Regions from separate parts of the Homo sapiens genome. Here regions 1, 3, 4, 5 and 6 are each linked to region 2. Evidence: promoter capture Hi-C in 16 types of primary human blood cells and fetal thymus (Javierre and others, 2016). All regions are on one chromosome and are shown on one strand. The core of a region is centred on a gene start or on the middle of the fragment in contact, and the rest is flanking DNA. Distances in the headings are between cores, read along the strand shown.

Region 1 (4,118 bases), core at 754-3,253, 430 kb after region 2:
TATCTACCTAGACGTATCCTCCTAAAATTAGAATCAGCAAATGATACCAGTAATATTTATTATTATTTGATATTGTTTCGGAAGTCCTGGCCAAATCAATAAGATATGAGAGAAAATGGTGGTTAGGGAATCTGAAAAGAAAGAAACTACTGTAGCATTTTCTGTAAGTAATTAAGTAGGAGAAAAAACATAGATCATTTTTAAGCTTCTAGAGTTATAGCAAGAGTATAGAAATGACCAGACACAGAGGTCCATATATGATTATCTTTTTGAAAATAGTTCTATATTTGAAGTAGTTATATATCAATTAGACGATTGTGTTATGAAGAAAAGGAGGATAAAGACACACACAAAAAAAACTAATGTGACCTATGTTATAAAAATAACATTTTATTTGGAAATTGTTAATGTTTGAAAGCAGACAAAATAAGGATAGCAACACAAAATGCCTTCTGACTTAGTGTGATAATATTCACAATATAGCATTTACCTGGTGAATTATTCATCACATATCATGGTGCTTAGGTTTGCTGGCTCAAGTTGTGACGTTGTTTTCAGAAAAAAAAAAAAGGGGGGGCTTAACGAAACTCATAGATTACTCAGATATAACCTAGAATGATATTTTTTAATATGTAAAGGATAACTGTCACACTTCCTGAAATACAGATGTCAGCATGACCAGTGCAATCTAAGATTTTAATTAGAAGGTTGCTTGGTAAGCGTAGAATTAAAGGGAAAGGAGATAACTGAATAGTTGAAATGCTTTTTGGCCCCAGGCAATTCAGGTGAAGGTACAGCATTCAATGAACCCACAGCCAATTCTACCTCTTTTGTTCCTTGTTTTCATGTTTTATTTTTCATTTTTATTTTTATTTTTTGAGATGGAGTCTCGCTCTGTTGCCCAGTCAACGCTCTGTTGCAGTGGCGCGATCTGGGCTCACTGCAAGCTCCGCCTCCCGGGTTCACGCCATTCTCCTGCCTCAGCCTCCTGTGTAGCTGGGACTACAGGCGCCCGCCACCACGCCCGGCTAATTTTTTGTATTTTTAGTAGAGACGGGGTTTCACCGTGTTAGCCAGGATGGTCTCGGTCTCCTGACCTCGTGATCCGCCCGCCTCAGCCTCCCAAAGTGCTGGGATTACAGGCGTGAGCCACCGCGCCCGGCCTTCATGTTTTATTACTGCCTATCCTTGCCATACCTCATCTGATTCACACACATTTTATTTATGTAACAAAGGTTTTTAAAAATGTATAGGTTAAAATTAGGCAGTGTGGTGAAGGGGAAACTTTTTTTTTTTTTACTGAAATCTTATGAGTTCTTAGTTGGAGAGGAGCCCTGAAACCAAAGACAGATCAACAAGAGAAAAACAAACTTAAATTTATTTACTTGTTTATTTCCTATATACATGGGAGATACCCAAGGAATGAGTAATTCTTGAGGTGGCTTTGGTTTTTTGTTTGTTTGTTTTGTTGTTGTTGTTGCTGTTTAGACAGTCTTATTCAGTTACCCAGGCTGCAGTGCAATGGCGCGATCTCGGCTCACTGCAACCTCTGCCTCCCGGGTTCAAGCGATTCTCCTGCCTCAGCTTCCTGAGAGGCTGGGATTGCGGGCATGCGCCACCATGCCTGGCTAATTTTGTATTTTTAGTAGAGACAGGGTTTCACCATGTTGGTCAGGCTGGTCTCAAACTCCCGACCTCAGGTGATCCGCCCGCCTCAGCCTCCCAAAGTGCTGGGATTACAGGCATGAGCCACCGCGCCTGGCCCTAAACCCACTTCTTTTGTCTGAATTCTCAATTTGCTTGATGCGAGACGGAGACGATGAACCTCGGGTATTTACCCCAGACAAATGACGCCACTTCACAAGTATGTTGCAGAATATTCAAAACCAGAGAATGAGGATGAGCACAAGAATGACTGGGACAAAAGCACATGAATGGGATATTCTTGAGAGATCCCCTAAGATAAAGACAGGATTGGATATGATACCTGGGTGCTCTGGCCTGTTAAAGGGCCAGAGGAAGTAGAAACAAATGAGAAGTAGGTGGAACCAGAAAAAATACACTAATTCCAGGAAACATTCCAGGCAAGTGTATTAAAAATAATGATTTACTGCTTGGATTTGTAGTGAACATGATAATAAATAACAGCACAGATTCACATGGAAATCATGTTAGACTAATCTAATCTCCTGCCTTAGGTAGAATTAGGAAATGTGGAGAATATTTTGCATCTTTACTTCTGCAAAGCACTTGATAAAGTCTCTCAATGCAATGACTACCTTCCTAACTGGTTAAACCAGATCATGTGATGATGTGACACAGACCTGTCTCCACAGGCCTATCTTATTCATCATATTTTCAGGTGACTTGGATGAAGATGCAAAATCTCATCACAATAATAGATGACATGATAGTCAGGGAGAGCAAATAACATGGATGATGGAATCAAGATCCAAAGTTCTTACCAGTCTGAAGCAGTGGATTATATCCAGTAACAAGAAATTTCACAAGTATAAATTTTGTGCCCTTGAAACAAAATCAGTTGCATAAGTACAGGACAGGACTTGGATGCTAACTAATAGTTTGTCATAAGTACCTTTACTTACCCAACATTAATTGAGGGCTTCCCCAGTGTTGAGGTTGTGTTAGGAACTGGGGATACAAGAGTGAGTGAGACACAGTTCCTACCTTCAGTGATTTTGCAGTCTGTTGAGGAATATAAACAAATAAACAGGAAATTATAATGTTACGTGAAAGACTCCTAGAGCTAAGCCAGGCTCGGTGGCTCACACCTGTAATCCCAGCACTTCGCGGGGCTAAGGCAGGCGGATCACCTGAGGTCGGGAGTTCAAGACCAGCCTGACCAACATGGAAAAACCCTGTCTCTACTAAAAACACAAAATTAGCCGGGTGTGGTGGCACATGCCTATAATCCCAGTTACTCGGGAGGCTGAGGCATGAGAATTGCTTGAACCCGGGAGGCAGAGGTTGCAGTGAGCCAAGATCACGCCATTGCACTCCAGCCTGTGCAACAAGAGCAAAACTCTGAAAAAAAAAAAAAAAAGAAAGAAAAGGAAAGGAAAGGAAGGAAGGAAGGAAAGGGAGGGGAGAAGAGAAGACTCCTGGTGCTAAAGATCCCAAAGGAGCACTTTACCCCACTCTGACAGGTTTAGGAAATTTTTCCTATGGTAAGTCACAGCTGAGTGCATACCCAAAGATGAGTAGGAGTTATGTAATGTTGAGGGAAAGAACTTTCCTGACAAATCCAGTAGCACGTCAATGGCCTGTAAACGAGGAGGACCTGGCTCAGTGGGCCCTGAAAGCCCTGGATTGCTTGCGTGGCTGAAGTAGAAGTCTACAGGGGCTGGAGAAGGGAGCAAGGAAGGACCAGACCGAGGAGAGGGGTGAACTGGAATTTAATCCTGAGGAATAAAGACATTTAAATAGGGTGTCAGACTTATTATTTAAAAAGAGCACTCCGGCAGTAAAGTAGAGAATGGATTAAAGTGGGGACCAGCCTGGGCACAGAGAGATTATCAAAGAGGCAATTACAGTAAACGATCTAGGAGAAATGTGGATGGCCCTAAATAAGCCGTGAGAATGAAAAGCAGTGGAAGTTAAAGATATGGAAGAGAGAAAAATCTACAGAACTTGGTGATTGATTGGTTTAGGGCAATGAGAGAAAGGAGGAAGTCAAATAGAACACAGGATTACATTGTCCTGTGTAGCAATTTAATTTTTTTGAACACTCCCAGTAACAGTAAGAGAGAGATGCTAGTATTATGTCTGCTTTACACTTGAGCAAGCTTGGAGAAGTTCACTAACTTGTTTAAGTTCAGGCTAGAAAGGAGTATATATTCGCTATTCAAACCTAGACAAACTAAAATATAGACTGAGCTTTTATTTTCATATATCAAGTACAAGACATAAGAAATAATAATTTTTGAAATATCAATTCCTGTTTAACATCAAAAGTTTTATGATTGTATCCTATTTTCTGAGTCTCAAGTCTTTGTCCGTAAATGTTCACGGATACCCAAAAGTGTTGACATTTGAATCCCAGGTTATAGCAAAGAGGACAATAAAGCGACTTGCAGGATCTTCCTTTGTTACTAATG
Region 2 (3,947 bases), core at 620-3,119:
GGATTCAGAGGCTTTTGAGAATCTGGTAAAAGCTATGGAGCTTTTTCACAGAAAAAAAAAAAGTATATACTGTTTTGTGCTCAATTTTCAGAGTGTCTATGAAGCCCATTTATGGACCTCCCAGGATCTCCATAAACTGAAAATTAGAAACCTCTGCCTAACAGAATGCTTGAATTATACCATCAGGAACCTATTTTCTGGCTGGGTGTGGTGGCTCACACCTGTAATCCTAGCATTTTGGGAGGCTGAGGTGGGAGAATCACTTGAGGTCAGGAGTTCAAGACCAGCCTGGGCAACATAGTGAGACCTCTATTTAAAAAAAAAAAGGAATGTATTTTCTTACTTATTTGGACAAAGGCTAATCTCTCATTCATATGTAAATATTTTGGGAATAATATTGTTAAGTCAACCACCTAAACTTAGTGTGAAAAAGCTTAGGGACAAAAGTACAGAACACTTCCAAGAAGACCTGAATGACTAACAATCCAGGGCCAAAAAGGACAACAATATCTCACTGGACGTCAGTGTGACAAACACGTAAAAAATGATGGCTTCTGTGCCCAATACACTTTGCTCATGTCGTTGCCCTATATAAGCCCCCAAGGAAAGGAGTGGGGAAACTCAGAATTGACTCAGATTTTTTTTAAAAGAGATCTCAAGCCAAAAATAAACAGAAAAATAAGGACAGTTTATTTGAGCAACATAGTGAGACTGTCCTATCCTTAAAAGGACAGTCTCACTATTTTGCTCATTTTATTGTTTTGCACCCTGGAGTTTTTGAAAGGAGATTCGGCTGAACCACAAATGGAAAGTTAAAGTTCCGTCCCCACTTCCATCTCTAGTTCCCTTCTCTGGAAGTAAACATTGCTCACAGTTTTATACTAACAGTTTCACAGTTTCTATGCATATGCAAATACATGCCTTCACCATCACCACTGCTTTTGCTTTTGCTTTACACAAACAGGATCATAAGTTAGATGCTATTCTGCACTTAGTATATCTCAGAGACCTTGCCCTGTTAACACATTAATACCCACCTCACTCTTTCCTTTTTTTTTTTTTTTTTTTTTTGAGGCGGAGTCTGGCTCTGTTGTTCAGCTCACTGCAATCTCTGCCTGCCGAGTTCAAGCGATTCTCCTGCCTTAGCCTTCCGAGTAACTGGGATTACAGGCGCCCACCACCATGCCCGGCTAATTTTTTTGTATTTTCAGTAGAGAGGGTTTTCACCATGTTGGTCAGGCTGGTCTCAAACTCCTGACCTCAGGTGATCCCCAACCTCCGCCTCCCAAAGTGCTGGGATTACAGGCGTGAACCACCGCGCCCGGCCTCCACCTCACTCTTCAAGTGGCTGTATGGTAGTCTAGCACATTTAAGCACAGTCTGGGTTTCTATTATCACAAACGGTTCTCATACTACCATTTGTTGGTGACAGCCACTGTCCCCTTTCGATGGGCACACAGGGCAAGGAAGTAAGAGGGGATGATTCTTACGTGGTCTCTCTTCCTGTCCCTCCCTCTCCTTCAGCCTTCTCCTCCTCCTTTCTCACCTCCCCTTTCACGCAGTATACACTCCCTCCCCTTCCCGGAGCCGCCGGGAGGAGCAGGGTGGATGCACCCCTAGCTGAGTCTCGGGTGGTTCCTAACCGGCCCCGCCAGGCACTTCCCACCCAGCTCTCAGCCTCAGAGCCCAGCGCCCTAGACCCAGGGCCAGGGCAAGTTCTGCCTGCGCTCGGACCCTACCTTAGACTGGGGCTGGAAACCCTGGGTGCCTGACCTGGGGCGTCCGATTCCCGCAGCAGGAAGCAGAAACTTCGCTCTGGATTCTGCCGGTGGGAAGGGTGGCAGCCGGGGGAGGAGCCGGATGCGGATCTGAGAAGAGACGGTGCGGGCGGAGACTCTCGGGCCCGGGCGGGGCGCAGCAGCTGCTGGAAGGGCAGCGAGCCGAGGGCCGGGCAAGACGACATGCCAGGGCTGCGACGCGAATGCCCAGGACCCCTGCCGCCTTTTCTGGGGCCCGAGTTTAGTTTGTTATTGTTTCTATTTTTTTTCCCTTTCTGGTCCTATTTTCTCCTGTCCCTAGGGCTTCCCCCTCTACCAAATTCGTCTCCTCTGGCTAATTTTCGTCTTTTTTTCTCCCATTAACTCTTCAAACACCGTTTCCTGGAAAAGATTTTAGCATGCTCGCTGCCTAGCTGTACACCTCTCCTTCCTAATATCAAAGACGGTCAGACTCAATTCATCCTAAAGTTCCTTTGAGGAACTCCTTAAAAGGAGACGGAAAGCGGAAAGCAACCGCCTGTAACCAAGTGTAGACATCAGTCAATCAAAGTTCGCTGAACTGAGAGCAAGTGCCTCCCCTCCTGTTGATCAGAAGAGAGATCCGTGGATCACACAGAATCTATCTGGAGCCATCCTGAATGATTAATGCTGAACCCTTTCCAGGAAGATGGAACCAGGCTTAGGAAAGAGACAAGTGACCCTTAGGTTAATAATCCTAGCTTCATAAAGAGAGGACCAAACATAGTAGCAGGAGAAATATGCTTTCTGCCTTTATATAAAGCAGATTAGCTGTCTTCTGGAAAATATCATTGCTTTCCTTAGAGAGGTACCCTTGAGTCTCAGGTAACAGCTGAGCTTCCGCTCAGAATTGAGGGCATTCTGTCCTCTATTAACTGAGCCAGTACCCCTTTCCTTCCTTAGAAACCTCTATTGCCACCAGTCCCAACACTCCCTGCAATGGTCTTTATGTTTGTGTCTCCCCAAAATTTATATATTGAAACCCTAATCCCAATGCGATGGTATTTAGGGTGGGATCTCTGGGAGGTCATTAGGTCATGGAGTTTAGAATACTCATAAATGGGATTGGTGGCCTCATAAGGAGAGACGGAAGAGCTAGCTAGCTCTTTTTCCACGATATGAGGATACAAGAAAACAGCCATCTGCAATCCCAAGGAAGACCCTCATCTTCAGAGGCAGACCATGCTGGCAATCTGATCTTGGACTTCCATTCTCTAGAACTGTGAGAAATAATATTTGTTGTTTAAGCCACCCGGTCTACGGTAATTTGTTATAGCAACCTGAACTAAAACATTTCCTTTTTATAACAAATATTTTAAAGCTCTTTTTATTTTTCTGAAACATAATTCGTAAAGAATGTAACTTACCCCCACGCACAATTTTAAACCAAAATTTAAAGACAAAAAGTAGAGACAGGGTTTTGCTATGTTGCCCAGGCTCTCTACCTCCAGGGCTCAAATAGTCCTCCTACCTTGGCCTCCCAAAGTGCTTGGATTACAGGCATAAGCCACCATGCCTGGCCAAAAAATTAGTAAAATCTCTTAAAGAGATATAAAGGAGTCTACGGCCATACCACCCCGAACGCGCCCGATCTCCTCTGATCTTGGAAGCTGAGCAGGGTTGGGCTTGGTTAGTACTTGGATGGGAGATAAAAGGAATACTAGAAAGAATATGACTTATAATTAAATACTATATGTTTAGATATGTAAATGTTTGTGTATAACATTCAAGAAGACACAATGTGGTACTCAGATATATGCATCTGTATATAAAATCACCTGGAATGTAACAGCTACAAATGCAGAATGATACAGGCATTATAATGGCGATTCAAATACCATGAACAGAATTACTGATGTGGTATGATTTTCCAGAATACTAAATAGCTTTTGGCAGATTTTCAAACAAAACAAGGTATGATCATCCCATGATTTTCATGGTAGTTGCATCCCTGGAAAGTTCAGTGTGTATTAAAACTACGCATAAAATGCCTTGTGTTTATATTTAAAATTAAATTATGGTCAGGCACGGTGGCTCACGCCTGTAATCCCAGCACTTTGGGAGGCCAAGGTGGGCAGATTACCTGAGGTCAGGAGTTTGAGACCAGCCTGGCCAACATGGTGAAACCTTGTCTCCACCAAAAATACAAAA
Region 3 (3,950 bases), core at 78-2,577, 480 kb after region 2:
TGACAGGAAAATTGGACGGTAGTAAAAATTAGGCAGATTAACTGTTGGAAGGTATATTATATCATTTAAGGGTCTACTTTCCATTTTCTAATCTCAAAGCTAGACCAGATTTAACATCTGTTAGTACCCAGGCCTTACCTTTGCAATTCACTTCTCACCTCTGTACAATTTCCCCACATCATCCCCTGTGCCCAGAATGCTCATCTCTTCTCTAAATCCCCTGAAAATCCCCTGCTTATCCTTTAGGACCTGCTGAAATAAACTTTTTTTTGAAGTTTTCCTTATTTCTCAAGCCAAGTGATTTCCTTCACCAGCAGTGTCCCTATGACACCATGTTCACACAAATGCTATTACCTCTATCACACTGTAATACAATTATATGTCTACAAGTACTTTCCTGTGTTTCTCTGAGGGCCAAGAATAAATGTATGCTTTGTGTATCAAACTGTACACTTGACCTCTATACTTTCAGGAATACAGTGCTCTGTCCTTAAATGTTCATTTGTAAATACAGAACCATATTCTTGTTAATATCACAAAATGAAACTTACCAGGAAGATGAATGACAACCCCAGAACACACTGTTTTGTAGAAAATACCATAGGCTGAAAAGATCACAGGAATACCGAGTGCTAGGTTGGAATCTTTCATGACACCAAATGTTCATTCATCCTCTGCCAGATTTTACAACTGTCCTCGGTGTGTTTTTAGGTTATGTAACTTTACACAAAGTGGAATCAATAATCAGGGCAAGACTTAAGAGAAAGTGGATCCAATGCAAGAGGAGTAAAGAAAAAAATTCCTCAATTGTATGGAGCAGATTGTTTTAATTATCTACAGAATCTTGTGCCCCAAGAAATTAATAGCTCAAGTTTCCAGCAAGAGTGGTGGATGAGATGGAGAGCATTTATGTGAGAGAGAACCAAGGATATTACTAAAAATGGAAGGGAAGCTGGGTTTCTCCTGGGCAAACAGCCCTCTGTGGCTCTATTTCTCCTAACTACTATGCCTGCCTTCGTGTCATTTAGTCATTTAGGGGCCTGCCAGAGGACAGTTATAAAATCTGTGGTCATTCTGCCGGCAGCGTATAGTTTTCACCCAGAGTCCAGATCCCACCGGCAAAACTCTGTCTAACACAGGATGACTTGGAATTAGAGTCCGTATAGCAGAAAGAGCAGCAGGGCTGTCCTTGGGTATCCGTTGCTCAGCCAAGTCATCAAATAAAAAGGATGATTGCACAAGTGGACCATGTGTCAATCTGTGGGTTTCTGCATGGCCAGACCCACCAAGGGAAGCTTTATTTAAACAGTTCCAAGTAGGGGAGACCAGCTGCCCCTGAACCCCAGAACAACCAGCTGGATCAGTTCTCACAGGAGCCACAGCTCAGAGACTGGGTAAGTCAACAATCCCCAGAGCTGGGACAGGAGGGGCAGCGACAGGGCAGCACCTGAGGGAGAGGTGAGCTGAAGTTAGTGCTTAGGAGATGTGGCACACTTTGGGGACAGGAAGAAAAGGAAATGCGACCCCAGAGTGGCAGCAGAGGGGCCTGTGGGTTGAGACACTATAGAGTGTGTCATAACCGAGACCGGATCGGGGAGTAGTTACTTCTCTTCTTTTCTTACAGGAAACATGGTTCCAAAACTGTTCACTTCCCAAATTTGTCTGCTTCTTCTGTTGGGGCTTATGGGTGTGGAGGGCTCACTCCATGCCAGACCCCCACAGTTTACGAGGGCTCAGTGGTTTGCCATCCAGCACATCAGTCTGAACCCCCCTCGATGCACCATTGCAATGCGGGCAATTAACAATTATCGATGGCGTTGCAAAAACCAAAATACTTTTCTTCGTACAACTTTTGCTAATGTAGTTAATGTTTGTGGTAACCAAAGTATACGCTGCCCTCATAACAGAACTCTCAACAATTGTCATCGGAGTAGATTCCGGGTGCCTTTACTCCACTGTGACCTCATAAATCCAGGTGCACAGAATATTTCAAACTGCACGTATGCAGACAGACCAGGAAGGAGGTTCTATGTAGTTGCATGTGACAACAGAGATCCACGGGATTCTCCACGGTATCCTGTGGTTCCAGTTCACCTGGATACCACCATCTAAGCTCCTGTATCAGCAGTCCTCATCATCACTCATCTGCCAAGCTCCTCAATCATAGCCAAGATCCCATCCCTCCATGTACTCTGGGTATCAGCAACTGTCCTCATCAGTCTCCATACCCCTTCAGCTTTCCTGAGCTGAAGTCCCTTGTGAACCCTGCAATAAACTGCTTTGCAAATTCATCTGGAAGTGTCTGTGTGTCTTCCTCGGCCGCTCTGCTGTCATTTAGTGACAATCTGCTCTAGAGATTTGGGTTTATCATGAATCTCTCCCCCTCAATATCTGACCAAATTCCTTAATTCCCCCATCATCCTTCATGTGATACCTGATTCCAGGCCTGCCTTAAAAAAAAATCCAATTGAGTCAACTTAGCATTGGTCTCCCTAGCCTTAATATCTCCTCTAAGCAATTTTCCATCCACTGACTCCTCCCCCAACACCAACCTATAACTTGTGTATAGATCTCCACTTGTTTTAGTTGTATTCCAGAATTGAGCCCAATTTGATATTGAGGTCCCATTTGATGCTTTATGGTCCGACTATGGTTTTTATTGACATGATTTCTATCCCAAGAAAAAAAGAGCTGCAGTGAATCAGCTGAAAATGCACGTGCTTCATTATGATTTATGAATGATAAATTTTGATAGAATTGAACGTTATGATAGAAAATAGAAAAGAAGAAAGTAGAAAAAGTCAAGAATGCTATAAATAAGGTGAAACCAAGATAAAGAAAAGTTTAGCCTCAGGGATATTTCTTTTAAATGGGCACATCAAGTCTCCAGCTATTAGCAATCGTAATAGAGGTGGAACCAGGGTTTGAGTCAAATGTGCAATAAGATAAATTGTTCCGACAGCAGTAAGGACAGATTGTAATGCTGACTGGAGGAGAGGTGGACATCTTTCCCAAAAGTTCCATGTCCTGGAGATGGGGAGCCGCTGGTCACGTGGGAAGGAGAAGGGGGAGGAGGAGGAGGAGGAAGTGGGAGCACTCATGAAGGTGAGTTGGCTCCTGCCCATTCTGCCCTCCATAGATGTTCCCAATGGCGAGTCAAAGGTTCATTCAACACCTGTCAGGAAGGGCACAGCCTCGAGAATTCAGGATTTGTAGACCCAGAGAGAGAAGAAATGGATGATGAGAGCCGCTGCCCTGGACTCCAACACAGGGCTTCACTCAGGAATCCATGAGAAACAGGGGAGAAAAAGGGGAAGCCCCTTCCTGCAAGTTGTGGACAGGTGCAGCATTCAAGTGATTGTTCCAGGAACAGAGTGGGTCTTTTTGAATGGCCCGACTCAGAATGCAAGAGAGGTACGATGCCATCAGATCTGCACCTTGGTCCTTCAGTCTGAGATTTCTGACTTCTATATTTCTCCTCCTCTTCCAGACCCTGAGAAACAGCAATTTCCATTCCTCAGATGACTCCATGTCAGTAATGGTGCTTTAATTGGCATCAGACAGCAGCTGTATTGAAGTCTCTCCTCTGGAGAAGCTATTGAGATCTTGCTTCTCCAAGGTCGGGCTGTGAACTTAAAAGTTTGCACAGAGACACTGAGTTTGGGAAATCTCAGTGCTCAACAGAATCCACTGACTCTAGGTAAAACAGGGCATGTCAGGAAGTGAGTGCAGTCTTCCCATAACCTCAGAGTAGCAGAAGGAGAAGGTGGGACTCTGAAAGCTGGAGCCACGTTTCCTGTGAAGAAAGATGGAGTGGACCTTCCTTGCTTCAGGTACCAGATCACAGGTCTCTTCTCAGTCGGGGATGCCTCATCTCTAAAACCACAGGATAGAGGGATCAGTCCCCACCTGCCCCCACACCCTCTCCACCTTGTGACTTCATCCTCTCT
Region 4 (4,426 bases), core at 1,535-4,034, 410 kb after region 2:
TTTTGTTTGTTTTTTGTTGTTGTTATTGTTTTTCTTTTGAGACGGAGTCTCACTCTGTCGCCCAGGCTGAAGTGCAGTGCCACAATCTCAGCTCACTGCAACCTCTGCCTCCCAGGTTCAAGAGATTCTCCTGCCTCAGCCTCCCAAGTAACTGGGATTACAAGTGCCTGCCATCACACCCAGCTAATTTTTGTATTTTTGGTAGAGACAGGGTTTCACCATGTTGGCCAGGCTGGTTTTCAACTCCTGACCTCAGGTGATCTGCCTGTCTTGGCCTCCCAAAGTGCTGGGTGGGATTACAGGAGTAAGCCACCACGCCTGGCCCGTCTGTTTTTTAATGTTATCTCCTTCTAAAGATCTTCCCCTCAATATCTCTAAGGAAGAAAGGTTGGATCTTAATAGGAAATCTAGTTTCTTAAGACTTTTATGCTTCTCACAGAGCCAGAGTTACTTTTGTGAGTGTATTCATCAATTGCCTTTGGTCTAACTGAAAAAACAAACCCCACACCTTAGTGCAGAAACACAGATACACAGAAAGAGACAAAGTTCTCACCTATACCCCTTCCCCCATACTCCTAAATTCCTGTGAAAGACCAGCAAAAAAATGGATTTTTACCCCAGTATGGATTTTGTGTATGTTCACACTAAATACAATTCACAAAGTTTTATCTTTCTATGAAGAAACTAAATGCCACAGTGTATTCACACTTACAGGAATTTAAAGCTTTTATTGTAAAGCTAAGGCAGCATGAAGAGTAAGTGCTGTAATTTAATGTATAAATTCATTCTATGTTGATTTCTATAGTAGGAAAAAGCAACTTTGGTCTGTCTGTGGTTCCATCATCAATTCACTGAGTTAAATAGAAAGCTTCAGGAATATAGTATTAACAGAGACCCCAAAATTACAGATAAATCCAGTAATGGAGCTTACAATACAGAATTAGAGGGTGCTAATTAATGAATTTTGGGAACAAGTCAGCAGTTAATAAATATTCATTAGGAAGTTGCAGTATATATTTCTCTAAGTTACCAAGTGACCTAGATATGGAATATTGAAAAAGATAATTTTGTATCTTTTGTATCTTTTTTAATTCCTGCTAAATTAATAGAAATATACTACTTGTATTTTCATCACCTACAACATTATTAACATTTTAGGGTGTAATTCTCCACACTTTTGTCTATGTGTAAGATTTTATAAAATATGAAGTACTGTAACACTGCTTCAGATTCTGCTTTTTCTCTTCAAATGCATCTGGGGTCCTAGTAATATGTAATTTCTTAACCTGGATAGTGGTGAACACAGATCTGTTTGCTTTGAGCTAACTTATTGAGCTATGTAATTATGTTTTTTCTGTGTGTATATTTCAATTTTTTTAAGTTTATTTAAAAACATATCCTAGGCTGGGCTTGGTGGCTCACGCCGGTAATCCCAACATTTTGGGAGACGGAAGCAAGTGGATTGCTGGAGCCCAGGAGTTCGAGACCAGCCTGGCCAATAGAGGGAGACCTCGTCCCTACTAAAAATTTAAAAAATTAGCCGGGCATGGTGGCTCACACCTGTGGTCCCAGCTACTCAAGACCTGCCTGCGCAGTATAGTGAGACCTTGTCTCTACTTAAAAAAAAAAAAAAATTAAATTAGTGGTCCCAACTACTCAGGAGGCTGAGGTGGGAGGATGGCTGGAACCCAAAAGGGTGAAGCTGCAGTGAGCCATGATCAAACCACTGCATTCCAGCCTGGGCGAGAGAGTAAGACCTTGTCACACACACACACAAAAAATTCCATCCTATATATTCCAAGTCAACATATATCTATATTACTCTAAATGGCTCTATAGTATTTCATGTTATGGATATATCATAATTCATTAAACAAATTCTGTATTTGGGGACATTTATAAGATTTACAACTTGTTACATGTACACTGCCTTCAATAAAAACTCTTCTATGTCTGCATTTATACTCTTGTGTCATAGGGCAGATTCTCTACAAAAATAAACACTGAGATTAAGATGTGCATTTAAGATGTTTACTGCAGGCCGGGCGCGGTGGCTCATGCCGGTGATCCCAGCACTTTGGGAGGCTGAGGCGGGCGGATCACCAGGTCAGGAGATGGAGACCATCCTGGCTAACACGGTGAAACCCCATCTCTACTAAAAATACAAAAAAATTAGCCGGGCGTGGTGGCGGGTGGCTGTAGTCCCAGCTACTCAGGAGGCTGAGACAGGAGGGAGAATGGCGTGAACCCGAGAGGTGGAGCTTGCAGTGAGCCGAGATCGCTCCACTGCACTCCAGCCTAGGCGACAGAGCGAGACTCCGTCTCAAAAAAAAAAAAAAAAAAAAAAAAAGTTTACTGCACAGCAATCTTGGGGCAATATCTGCAGAGGGAGTGAAGGAAGCATTATCGGGCAGAAGAGGTAGGATTTTGATGCAGTCACAACAAAGGCCTTGGCCAATCCCACAGGTATTCTAGCTTTCTTTAGAGCTAGATTGACCTTCAGAGTTGTTCTGAATTAAGGTAAAGGGACCAAGCCTTTATATCCCGTTACCATTTATTAGATGTTGACTGCCCTTGGGGAGGAGGCTTCACTTTTAGCAGGATGGTTCTCTGCCACTGTTACACTCTTGCCAATGCACCACAATGTAGTAGTCTCTCGCTGCCCAAGGCATCATCCTAAGTTCTTTGTCTCATGACCAAGAAAGTTAAGGATCCTGGACACCAAGGGTGAGGTTGGAGTGAAAGTTTAATAAGCGAAAGAAGAAAGCTCTCCGCTGCAGAGAGGGGACCTGGAAGAGGACTGTTGTTTCTACAGTTGAATGCAAAGGCTTTTATAGAAAACCCATGAGGGCTGGGAGTCTCCTTTGCATAAGGGGTGAATGTGTCGTAGCCCCACCGTGTCTTCCTAATGTGCGTGCGGGCCCCTTATTGCACGTGTGTCAGGGGACGGAATTTTCCATTGCAGGCATGTCTAAGCAAGTCACCTGGGTCGCCCTTCTCATGTTTGTGGGCGTGTCTTAGGCAAGCCCCTATGCAAATTCCTGTATCTGTGCCTGCAGGCTGTTGTTTTGTTTGAAAGGATTAAACCAAGGACCCACCCTAACTGCCTGCCTGACTGGGTTTTTTCTTTTCTCCTCTGTCAACACAAAGGGCTATTCCCAGAGAGAAAGAGACTCAGCTGAGAGCTAGCTGTTCATCACCATCACTAGTCAGTGGAGGGAATGAGTGCCGTGTTCCTGAAGTGGGGGAACTGGGACATGCACCACCGCATCCACTACACCTTGCCCAATTACTTCCTTGGCATATATTCCTAGATGTGTTTAGAGAACATGGACTTTTGATAAGGCTTTAGATAATGTCAATTGCCTTCTATAAAAGTGGTATTTCAGCGAGGTGGCTCACGCCTGTAATACCAGCACTTTGAGAGGCCGAGGCGGGCAGATCACGAGGTCAGGAGTTTGAGACCAGCCCGGCCAATATGGCAAAACCCCGTCTCTACTAAAAATACAAAAATTAGCCAGGCATGGTGGCGGGAGCCTGTAATCCCAGGTCCAGGGAGGCTGAGGCAGGAGAATCGCTTGAAACAGGGAGGTGGAGGTTGCAGTGAGCTGAGATCGTGCTGTTGCACTCCAGCCTGGGCAACAAGAGCAAGACTCTGTCTCAAAAAAAAAAAAGGTATTTCACTTCTAATAGGAGAGCAAGAGACCATTTTTTCTTCTGTGTCAAACAATAGCGTGCCCTTGCCTGCTCTTTTATCTGTGATTCCACAGCATTTCACACTTTATTATACCATGTCTCACATTCAGTGGGAATTCTTTCTTCTCAGTCTCCCAAATTACACTGTTTTCAAGAACAGAAAGGGTGTTTTATTCACACATATCTCCTGATCATGTGCCATGTATACAGTTGGTCTCCAATTAATACATGTCAAGTAAATTAATGTCTCATTGTAGAAGGCTACGGAGTCACAGAAGATTAACTGACTAGAAACAAAGAAAATACTATACAAAAAATATTAGACATGGTGCAGAATCAAAAGGTGGTTGTGGAAGAAATGGAATGTGTTTTTCATGAAGGAGGAATGTAACTACCCAGTGGTTTCACCTTGCCCACAGCCTAGACAGAGCCAGTTTATCAAGACAGGGGAATTGCAATGGAGGAAGAGTAATTCACACAGAGCCGGCTGTGTGGGAGACCGGAGTTTTATTATTACTCAAATCAGTCTCCCCAAGCATTCAGGGAAGCAGAGTTTTTACTGACAACTTGGTGGGTGGGGGGAAGCCAGTGAGCCAGGAGTGCTGACTGGTCAGTTAGGAAACAAGACCATAGGGAACTGAAGCTGTCCTCTTGCACTGAGTCAGTTCCTGGGTGGGGGACACAAGATCAGATGAGCCAGTTTATCAATCTGGGTGGTGCCAGCTGATCC
Region 5 (3,942 bases), core at 953-3,452, 460 kb after region 2:
TCACTCCACTTGGTCAAATTACAAATATGTTGTTATTAAGAAATTTCATAACTATGTTTATGTAAAATGTGGTTTTAAATGTAATTTTTGAGAGAATTTATTTAAAAGGGAAAAACATGCTTATATGTGAAAAGTGGGTAATATAAACATGTTGCTTGTTTTTGAGAGAAAGTCTGTGGAAGAACTAATGAGAATCTAGGCTAAGGCTCCTATAAACTTCAATCTCTAGTGAGAGTTTTATCATAAAGTCCAGGCAGCTGTGCTGTCATTGAACATTGAGCATCAGTATCCCCATATCTCTAAAGGGGAATGCTAAGCTGAGTTTTCTGCAGACCACGACCACCAGCTTTTGAGGTAACTTTAGCCTCCTTATGCAGAAATGAGGAAGAAAATCTTGTAGGTGAGGATCAATGATGCACTAGCTGGGCATCAGTGGCAGCCTGACAGTAAGACACTGATTGTTCCTCTTAAGTTGGTGTATGTCTGTCACTATTACCCTACACATTAGCTTGCTCCCTGCTAGCTTATTGACAGAAACAAATGTAAATGCTGCATTAATCAAGTGTATATGTGTCATAAATATTTTCTCTTAGTATGGCCTATACTTTGAAATCCTGAACCTAAGGGTTTTGGGTTTAACCTTTGGTTATCACTCAAAATGAAACACCTATGTTTTCTTGTAGATCTTGTCCAGAATGGCCTGCTGAATCCTTGAAAGCCGTAAGAGAGACGTATAGCAACCTATTCTGAATCAACTTGTTCAATCTAGCAATTCTGTCACTCTAAGAGAATCTTCTCAGCCTCGTACTCCTTTCTTGGACAACCACTACTTTAAAAGCAGGATCATGTTCAATGGCATTCTGGCAATACAGATGTCCATTAAGTAGAAATGCACAATGTCTACTTGTTGAATATCTAATTGTTCTCCAAATTTATTAACAGGATCTTCTATCTTGATAGGAAAAAAAAATTCATATTTTGAAATCTATCTATCTATCTATATAGATAGATAGATATATTTTCTTTCTGAGAATATATATATTTTTTCTTTTTGAGATGGAGTTTTACTCTTGTTGCCCAGGCTGGAGTGCAATGGCACAGTCTCAGGTCACTGCAACATCCACCTCCTGGGTTCAAGCGATTCTCCTGCCTCAGCCTCCCGAGTAGCTGGGATTACAGGCACCTGCCACCATGCCTGGCTTATTTTTGTATTTTTAGTACAGACGGGGTTTCACCATGTTGGCCAGGCTGGTCTCAAACCCTTGACCTCAAATGATCCACCCGCCTCGGCCTCCCAAAGTGCTGGGATTAGAGGCGTGAGCCACTGCACCTGGCTATATATATATTTTTAGAACTCCTTCTTTCCACAGTGTAGAAAGTACACATTACAAAGCTCAGTCAAATGCCAGGAACTTAAACATCCACACATTAGCATAAATTGTTAATTAATTTCTCAAAAAAAGAAAAAAATGCATCTCACTTGAATTCCAGGGAATCAACCTAAAGTATACTGAGATTCCTAAACTGAACCTTAAAACACAAGACACAGAATCAAAAGTCAAAGAACAAAAGGAACATTCTTCAGCAGGAGATAGGGAGCTGGTTTTAGAAACAGGTGGAGATCACCGAGTCTCAGCATAAGCAAAAGCAACACAGAAACCTAGGCTTTTGAAAAATGTCTAAAATACAGCAAAAGAGAAGGCATTCGAATGTTTTTGTGTAGTAATAGCAGGCTACTAATACAGGAATACAGACTATATTAATCCATGACATTTCAGTGAAACAATAAAAACAACTCTTTGGACATCCAGAAACAAAGGATGTTTTATCTAGTTAACTTTTTTTTTTTTTGAGACAGGGTCTGGCTCTGTCTCCCAGGCTGGAGTGCAGCAGCCCAACCTCGGCTCACTGTGACCTCCACCTCCTAGGCTCAAGCGATCCTCCCACCTCACCCTCCTGAGTAGTCGGGACTACAGGCGTGTGCCACTACGCCCGGCTAATTTTTGTATTTTTTGTAGAGATGGGGTTTCACCATGTTGCCCAGACTGGTCCCAAATTCCTGGACTTAAGTGATCCACTCACCTCACCCTCTCAAAGTGCTGGGATTACAGGCATGAACCACTGCCCCTGGCCCCCTTTTTATTCATATGTGAAGACAATAGAAAGACATTCTTCCATCACTAATATTTACTTAATTAACATTTCTGAGTGCCTTTGATATGACAAGCACTATGCTAAGTGCCATATAGGGAGAGGTGAACAAAACAGACAGGTGCTTGTATCCTAGAAAACTTTGCCTCTGCACACCTTGCTTGTGATAATAATTATAGGGCATATGCCAAACACTGAGCTATAAATCTATGAAGGAAGGATGTTGCTTACTTATCACAAGTGATAACCAGTGATACCAGTATCTATGAGCCATAGAAAAAAAGATTGCCTATTTCCCTGACTAGCTCAGAGGGATACAGCTTAATTCAGAAGATAAAACCTTTTCTTTTTTTTTTCTTTGAGATGGAGTCTTGCTCTGTCGCCAGGCTGGAGTGCAGTGGCGCAGTCTCGGCTCACTGCAACCTCCACTTCCCGGGTTCAAGCAATTCTCCTGTCTCAGCCTCCCGAGTAGCTGGGACAACAGGTGCACGCCACCACGCCCAGCTAATTTTTATATTTTTAGTAGAGACAGGATTTCACCATGTTGGCCAGGTTGGTCTTGATCTCTTGACCTCGTGATCCGCCTGCCTCAGCCTCCCAAAGTGTTGGGATTACAGGCGTGAGCCACTGCACCAAGCCAAGAAAACTCTTTCTTTATGGCAGCATTAGGCACCCCCAATAAGAGCCCACTCACATCATCATGATAGACAGAAACACTGCAGGGGGAAAAATGATCTTGCCTTTGGGCACCAGGACATTGGGACCTCCCAAGTAGTCTGCATCAGTGGATCATAAGGACCAACCATTTATCAAATCTGGGAAAGACAAAAGGCAAGCATAAGATTAAAAAGTAATGCAGGTCTTCGCCAGATGGCTCTGCTGCTTAATAAGTAAAATCACAATCACAGAAGGTGATAACCAAGGATAATTAGGTAAACGACCACACTCCATTTAATCACAGTTCAGAAGATCTTCCCTAATTTCTGCTGAAGTCTCTTCAATAATTTCACCTACCTCTGGAAGAAACTAGAGGACTAATGGGAAGAGTCCATTGGTGTTTATGTGGGAAAAGGAAGGTGCAAGCCATTTCAGCTCAAGGAAAGAAAGGAAGGGAGGGAGGGAGGAAGAAAGAGAAAGAGAAATGAGGAAAGGAAGGAACGGAAAAGAGAGAAAAGAAGAAAGGAGGGTAGAAGAAAGAAAGGAGGGAGGGAGGAAAGAAGAGAAACTGACTTTCCAAAGACACAGCTGAAGCAGCAGCTAAGAGGTAACATTATGAAAGTATGGGGTATCATTCTTCAGGATGCAGTGTATTTATTAAATCAGAGGCCTGTAAAGGGTACTGTGTTCCCAATAGGAAGAATACACGGATCCAGGAACCGAGAAGTAGAAGCAGGAGTAGCTCCACTTACCATCTCTCTGATTGACCCACTCAGATATGTTGTGCTTTCATTTCTGTAACTCTAGGCTCTGCAGGGTCAAAGGTCCAGGTCCCCAAAGAAGATGCACCCTTGCCAACTTACACAGAAAGGTCTCATTGAACTGCAAGCTACAGCTTTTCCCAGGACACTTTGGATTTCTCGTGTCTAGGGACCAGCAGACGTGAAGAGGAGTTGCCATACTGTCAAGGCTAAGTAACCTTGATTAGCAGGAGGGAGGTAGGGCTGCTTTTACCCAATAGAGGCAGAAAAGAATTTATGTAGAACCCAAGTAATCTACTTGGGTGCTTTCTGTTACTCCCATGCTCCATTTTAACTGTGAATGTAAGTGTGTAGCCACCTCAGCCTGAGAAAA
Region 6 (4,205 bases), core at 492-2,991, 290 kb after region 2:
ACCTCTTCTTAAAGCTGCTCTACTTCCAAGAAAACTGAGGCCATTCACTGTAAAGGCCAACAAAAGGCATCAGATCCCATCACTCAGGGCAATGCTTATGCTAATAAGGTAGCTAAACAAGCAGCTGGCGTTTCAACTTCTGTCCCTCATGGCCAGTTTTTCTCTTTCTCATCTTTTCACTTTACATTTCCAGTTTCGCCTTACACAAGGTCTCTTCTTCCCCTGTGGCTCCTCCCCTACATGTGTCTACCTGTTAATTAGACAGGCACATGCACACTAGTTTTCCTTACCCCCAAAAATCAACTTGCAAATGGGACCCAAGAGCTTCCTGTTCCCCTCATGACACCAACACTTCACTACTATTTTGTTTTGTTTTTCTTATTATTAATATAAGAAGACAGGAATATGCCCTTGACTTACTCACTGCTGAAAAAGGGGGACTCTGTATATTTTTAAATGAAGAGTGTTGTTTCTACCAAAATCACTCTGGCCTAGTATATGACAACATAAAAAAAACTCAAGGATAGCGCCCAAAAACTCACCAACCAAGCAAATAATTATGCTGAACCCCCTTAGGCACTCTCTAATTGGATGTCCTGAGCCCTCCCAATTTTTAGTCCTTTAATACATGCTTTTCTCCTTCTCTTATTTAGACCTTGTGTCTTCTGATCAGTTTCTCAATTCATACAAAACTGCATTCAGGCCATCATCAATCATTCTGTATGACAAATGCTCCTTCTAACAACCCCACAATATCACCCTTGATGCCCAAATCTTTCTTCAGTTTAATCTCTCCCACCCTAGGTTCCCATGCTGCCCCTAATCCCACTTGAAGCAGCCCTGAGAAACATTGCCCATTATCTCTCCATACCACCCCCCAAAATTTTTGCCGCTCCAACACCTCACCACTATTTTGTTTTGTTTTTCTTATTAATATAAGAAGACAGGAAATGTCAGACCTCTGAGCCCAAGCCTGCAAGTATACATCCAGATGGCCTGAAGCAACTGAAGAACCACAAAAGAAGTGAAAATAGCCAGTTCCTGCCTTAACTGATGACATTCCACCATTGTGATTTGTTCCTGCCCCACCTTAACTGATCAATTAACCTTGTGACATTCCTTCTCCTAGACAATGAGTCTCAGAACCTCCCCACTGAGCACCTTGTAACCCCTGCCCCTGCCTGCAAGAGAATAACCCACTTTGACTGTAATTTTCCACTACCTACCCAAATCTTATAAAACTGCCCCACCCCATCTCCCTTTGCTGACTCCTTTTTCGGACTCAGTCTGCCTGCACCCAGGTGATTAAAAAGCTTTATAGCTCACACAAAGCCTGTTTGGTGGTCTCTTCACATGGACGCACATGACAGGAGCAGAGATATATGAAGATGCTAGCTGCTTAAGAAGGGAAGTGTGAGTGTGTGTGTGTGTGTGTGTGTGTGTGTGTGTGCACATGTTTAAGGGCAAAACTGACAAAACTGAAAACATTTGAATTACAGCAGATACAGAAAGAAATCTTACCTGAACTTCTCTCACCTGACTAAAGCAGAGCCTCCCAGAAATGCCCCCACCATTATCTCCCTCCGGAGGGGTCCTCATGTAATGGTAATAGGTCTTTTGCCTGATGTGCACAGCATGTCAATATGCCAAGACACTGGGTTGCAGCAGAGAAAGAGGTTTAATTGCAGGGCTGCTGAACCAAAAGATGGAAGGAAACCTCAAATCCATTTCCTCAAAGAGTTTGAGGCTGTTGTTTTTAAGGATTTGGAGTAGGTGGAAATAAGAGATCACTAATTGGTTGAAGAATGCAGAGTGAAGTCATGGGACAGAGAGATGAAAAAACAGTATTCTCATGCTGATCAGTTCATCAGTTGGGCTCTTTAAAGTTGGTGGTGTCAGCTGTTCTGCCGGAATTCAGGATCTGCATAAACAATTCTTAAACAAAAGCCTTATGATTCTAATGTCAAAGATCTTATCTATGGGAACAATGAGAATGCAAATTATCAGTAGCTAGTGTTCGTGAGTTTTGGTTACAAGGAAGTGGGTCAAAGTGTAGCCTGATTAACACTTACTCATAATTATATTTTTGTCCAGGATTCTTGTTAACCGTGTGAGGATTACTTCACCCAGACAGGAGATATTCCAAGAAAATTGTGTAAAACTTTATCCAAAGCTTCTATTTGTCTTTCCCAAAAGTCATTTGTTTTCCTATAGAAGTCATTTCTCCCTCCTTCTTTTCCCCTATGAGTTGATAACTAAACTTCTGTCTCTAGCTCTTCATCAAGCCTCTTCATCTGAATGCTTCCACAAGTTATGAATACAACTTGTTTTCTTTCCCCCTGCTAACCTGTCTATAGTTAATTCACAGGCTCCCACCCACTGAACCAAAGTTGGTAGAGGGAAAGTTTTCCCTCCTAATAGCATGTCTGTGTATATTTAGAGTGAGAAAGAAGGATGAAGAGATAATTCGTCTTTGTCACCATCCAGGTAGTCATGGGAGTTGGGACCTGTGGTATAATAAAAAATAAATTTGAACTTAGTTCCTGGTTCCTGCCACAGACCTTCTAAAATGCTTGGAATTTCCTGAGTGATAGTGTAACCAAACTAAGGGTCAGCTGATCACTGCTCACTGCTCAAAAGCAAGACTTGCAAGACAAGAGTTGGTGCAGGAAAAGCAGGTTTATTCAAGAGCTAGCAACCTGAGGAGATGGTGGACTAGCGCCTCAAAGACTATTTCAAAATTTTAGGCTAGCTAAAGGGATTTTAAGAAGTAGGAGGCATGGAAACTATGAGCAGGAGTGGTGCAGGGTGCAGGTTTGCATGTCTTACTCTGATGGCTATCTTCAGTAACGGATCACCTGGAGGTCTGGCTGGCATCACCATGACTGCAACTAGCTTATGGATTAACCCCCCTCAGTGATTTTTCTGAGAATGTAGGATTCCACAATCTCAAATTCATGCCCGGTTTATTTCAAGATTAGCCCCTGGGTTTCTTAAGCAAGGATACGGCTAGATACTGAATAAATCAAAGGGTGAGGCTATTCATTATTGAAGCAGGCTGATTATTCCAGCTACAAACTCCCCACTGCCAATTCCTGTTTCATTTCTATGGGAGATCAGGTGTCAATTTCTTTCTAGCTACTTCCTGCTGAATGAGGGCATCACTAGGGAGCTGAAGAATGGAATTTATTTACCTGGAGTTGGAAGTATTCATGCATTCCTTGACTTATGGAAGTGATTTTTTACAGCATCATTGACCTGGGAGTTAGGAGCCTTTCCAATTAAGGAAAACACAATCTTGCAATATCACACATATGGTGCAACAAGAGTATAACCCATAGAGAATATACCTATTCCTATAATCATAGCTGGAACTACTAGCAGTTTTTTCCACCAAGTAGGTCCGTATCCAAACCATGAAGATAACCACTGGTTTAGGAACATTGTGGGGTCAGACATAGCATTGATTTGTCTGTGCACGTCTTGAAGGGCTAAGGAGATGTTTCGCAAATTACCTAGGATATACACAAAACATTTAGTTTCAATTATGGGTCAAGGTCCCTCCCAGCAGCTGTGAGTACATCAAGGGCCATGTGGTTTTGCAAGACTACTTTTCCCATCATAGTCATTTCAGAGGTTACTAATGAGATGCCCTTAAATGTGTCTTTCAGCACTTGCTATAATTTGTAAGTGCCTCAATATGCCAGATGATGCTTTCTAAGCCTGCTTGGGGGAAAACAAGGGACAGGAGATGGTCGTAGGAAGGGAAAACCGGCCTGGTCCATTGGTGTAACACATCTGGAAAGTGTGCAGGCTGCCTGGTGGTTTTTGTTAATCAGCCCCGGACCTATGGGGGTCCTAACGTGCACTGCCCTATCCATCCATCAGGTAGACATGGCCGAAGATTAGTTTCACATAACTATTGAGTTCCACTGGGGACCAGCCACCAAATTTTGGGTCTGTGTCCAATCAGTGGTAAACAGGTTTGTCTAATATAGCACTAAAGAATGTTCATATTGATGTAGAGGCATCCTATCCACATTTTTAGTAACATTCGGCCAATGATTCTAAGAGTGATTCCTTTGTTCCCAACATGAAGTGGCAATTTGGGTTAAGTGACTAATAGTGGAGATCATCCAGAGGTAATCGTCCCAAATTTGATAAAAACTCACCTACCGTGTAATGGTTATTAGTAGCCAAAATCT

The links. Contacts are between HindIII fragments. The CHiCAGO score rates a contact against its expected background, and 5 or more counts as called.
Region 1: a contact is called between a fragment that was not itself captured here and the fragment with the promoter of TEP1 in region 2, in 1 of 17 cell types (M2 macrophages). The highest score is 6.3, in M2 macrophages.
Region 3: a contact is called between the fragment with the promoter of RNASE3 here and the fragment with the promoter of TEP1 in region 2, in 6 of 17 cell types (total B cells, monocytes, neutrophils and 3 more). The highest score is 12.3, in total B cells.
Region 4: a fragment that was not itself captured here is called in contact with the fragment with the promoter of TEP1 in region 2 in 1 of 17 cell types (naive B cells); the score reaches 5.4 in naive B cells.
Region 5: a fragment that was not itself captured here is called in contact with the fragment with the promoter of TEP1 in region 2 in 11 of 17 cell types (naive B cells, erythroblasts, total B cells and 8 more); the score reaches 11.2 in naive B cells.
Region 6: a fragment that was not itself captured here is called in contact with the fragment with the promoter of TEP1 in region 2 in 5 of 17 cell types (naive B cells, naive CD4 T cells, M2 macrophages and 2 more); the score reaches 7.7 in naive B cells.

Annotation. Positions count from the first base shown.
Region 1 is chr14:20,838,984-20,843,101 of GRCh38, forward strand. No RefSeq gene overlaps it. Among named protein-coding and RNA genes, the nearest start is that of RNASE1, 38 kb to the left of the region's middle. RefSeq lists an enhancer at 1,174-1,674. The HindIII fragment of the contact is 3,601 bases long and covers 204-3,804 here.
Region 2 is chr14:20,411,632-20,415,578 of GRCh38, forward strand. TEP1 (telomerase associated protein 1) reads right to left here and starts at 1,870. Exons shown (of 55, transcript NM_007110.5): 1 at 1,774-1,870. It also overlaps the pseudogene RNA5SP382. RefSeq lists enhancers at 708-1,624, 734-903, 1,454-1,523, 2,024-2,073. The HindIII fragment of the contact is 9,686 bases long and covers 432-3,947 here.
Region 3 is chr14:20,890,058-20,894,007 of GRCh38, forward strand. RNASE3 (ribonuclease A family member 3) reads left to right here and starts at 1,328. Exons shown (of 2, transcript NM_002935.3): 1 at 1,328-1,394; 2 at 1,625-2,291. The coding sequence starts at 1,630. The coding sequence ends at 2,112. All of the region lies in intron 1 of LOC100507513 (a long non-coding RNA gene), which reads right to left. The HindIII fragment of the contact is 4,045 bases long and covers 1,294-3,950 here.
Region 4 is chr14:20,817,566-20,821,991 of GRCh38, forward strand. No RefSeq gene overlaps it. Among named protein-coding and RNA genes, the nearest start is that of RNASE1, 17 kb to the left of the region's middle. RefSeq lists a cis regulatory region at 2,771-3,354 and enhancers at 2,925-3,219, 4,165-4,426. The HindIII fragment of the contact is 3,836 bases long and covers 867-4,426 here.
Region 5 is chr14:20,867,491-20,871,432 of GRCh38, forward strand. It overlaps LOC100507513 (a long non-coding RNA gene), which reads right to left. Exons shown (of 4, transcript XR_110261.4): 4 at 2,745-2,966. Among named protein-coding and RNA genes, the nearest start is that of RNASE3, 22 kb to the right of the region's middle. The HindIII fragment of the contact is 5,154 bases long and covers 1-3,942 here.
Region 6 is chr14:20,705,211-20,709,415 of GRCh38, forward strand. It overlaps EGILA (EGFR interacting lncRNA), which reads right to left and starts at 1,731. Exons shown (of 4, transcript NR_174964.1): 1 at 1,537-1,731. The HindIII fragment of the contact is 860 bases long and covers 1,312-2,171 here.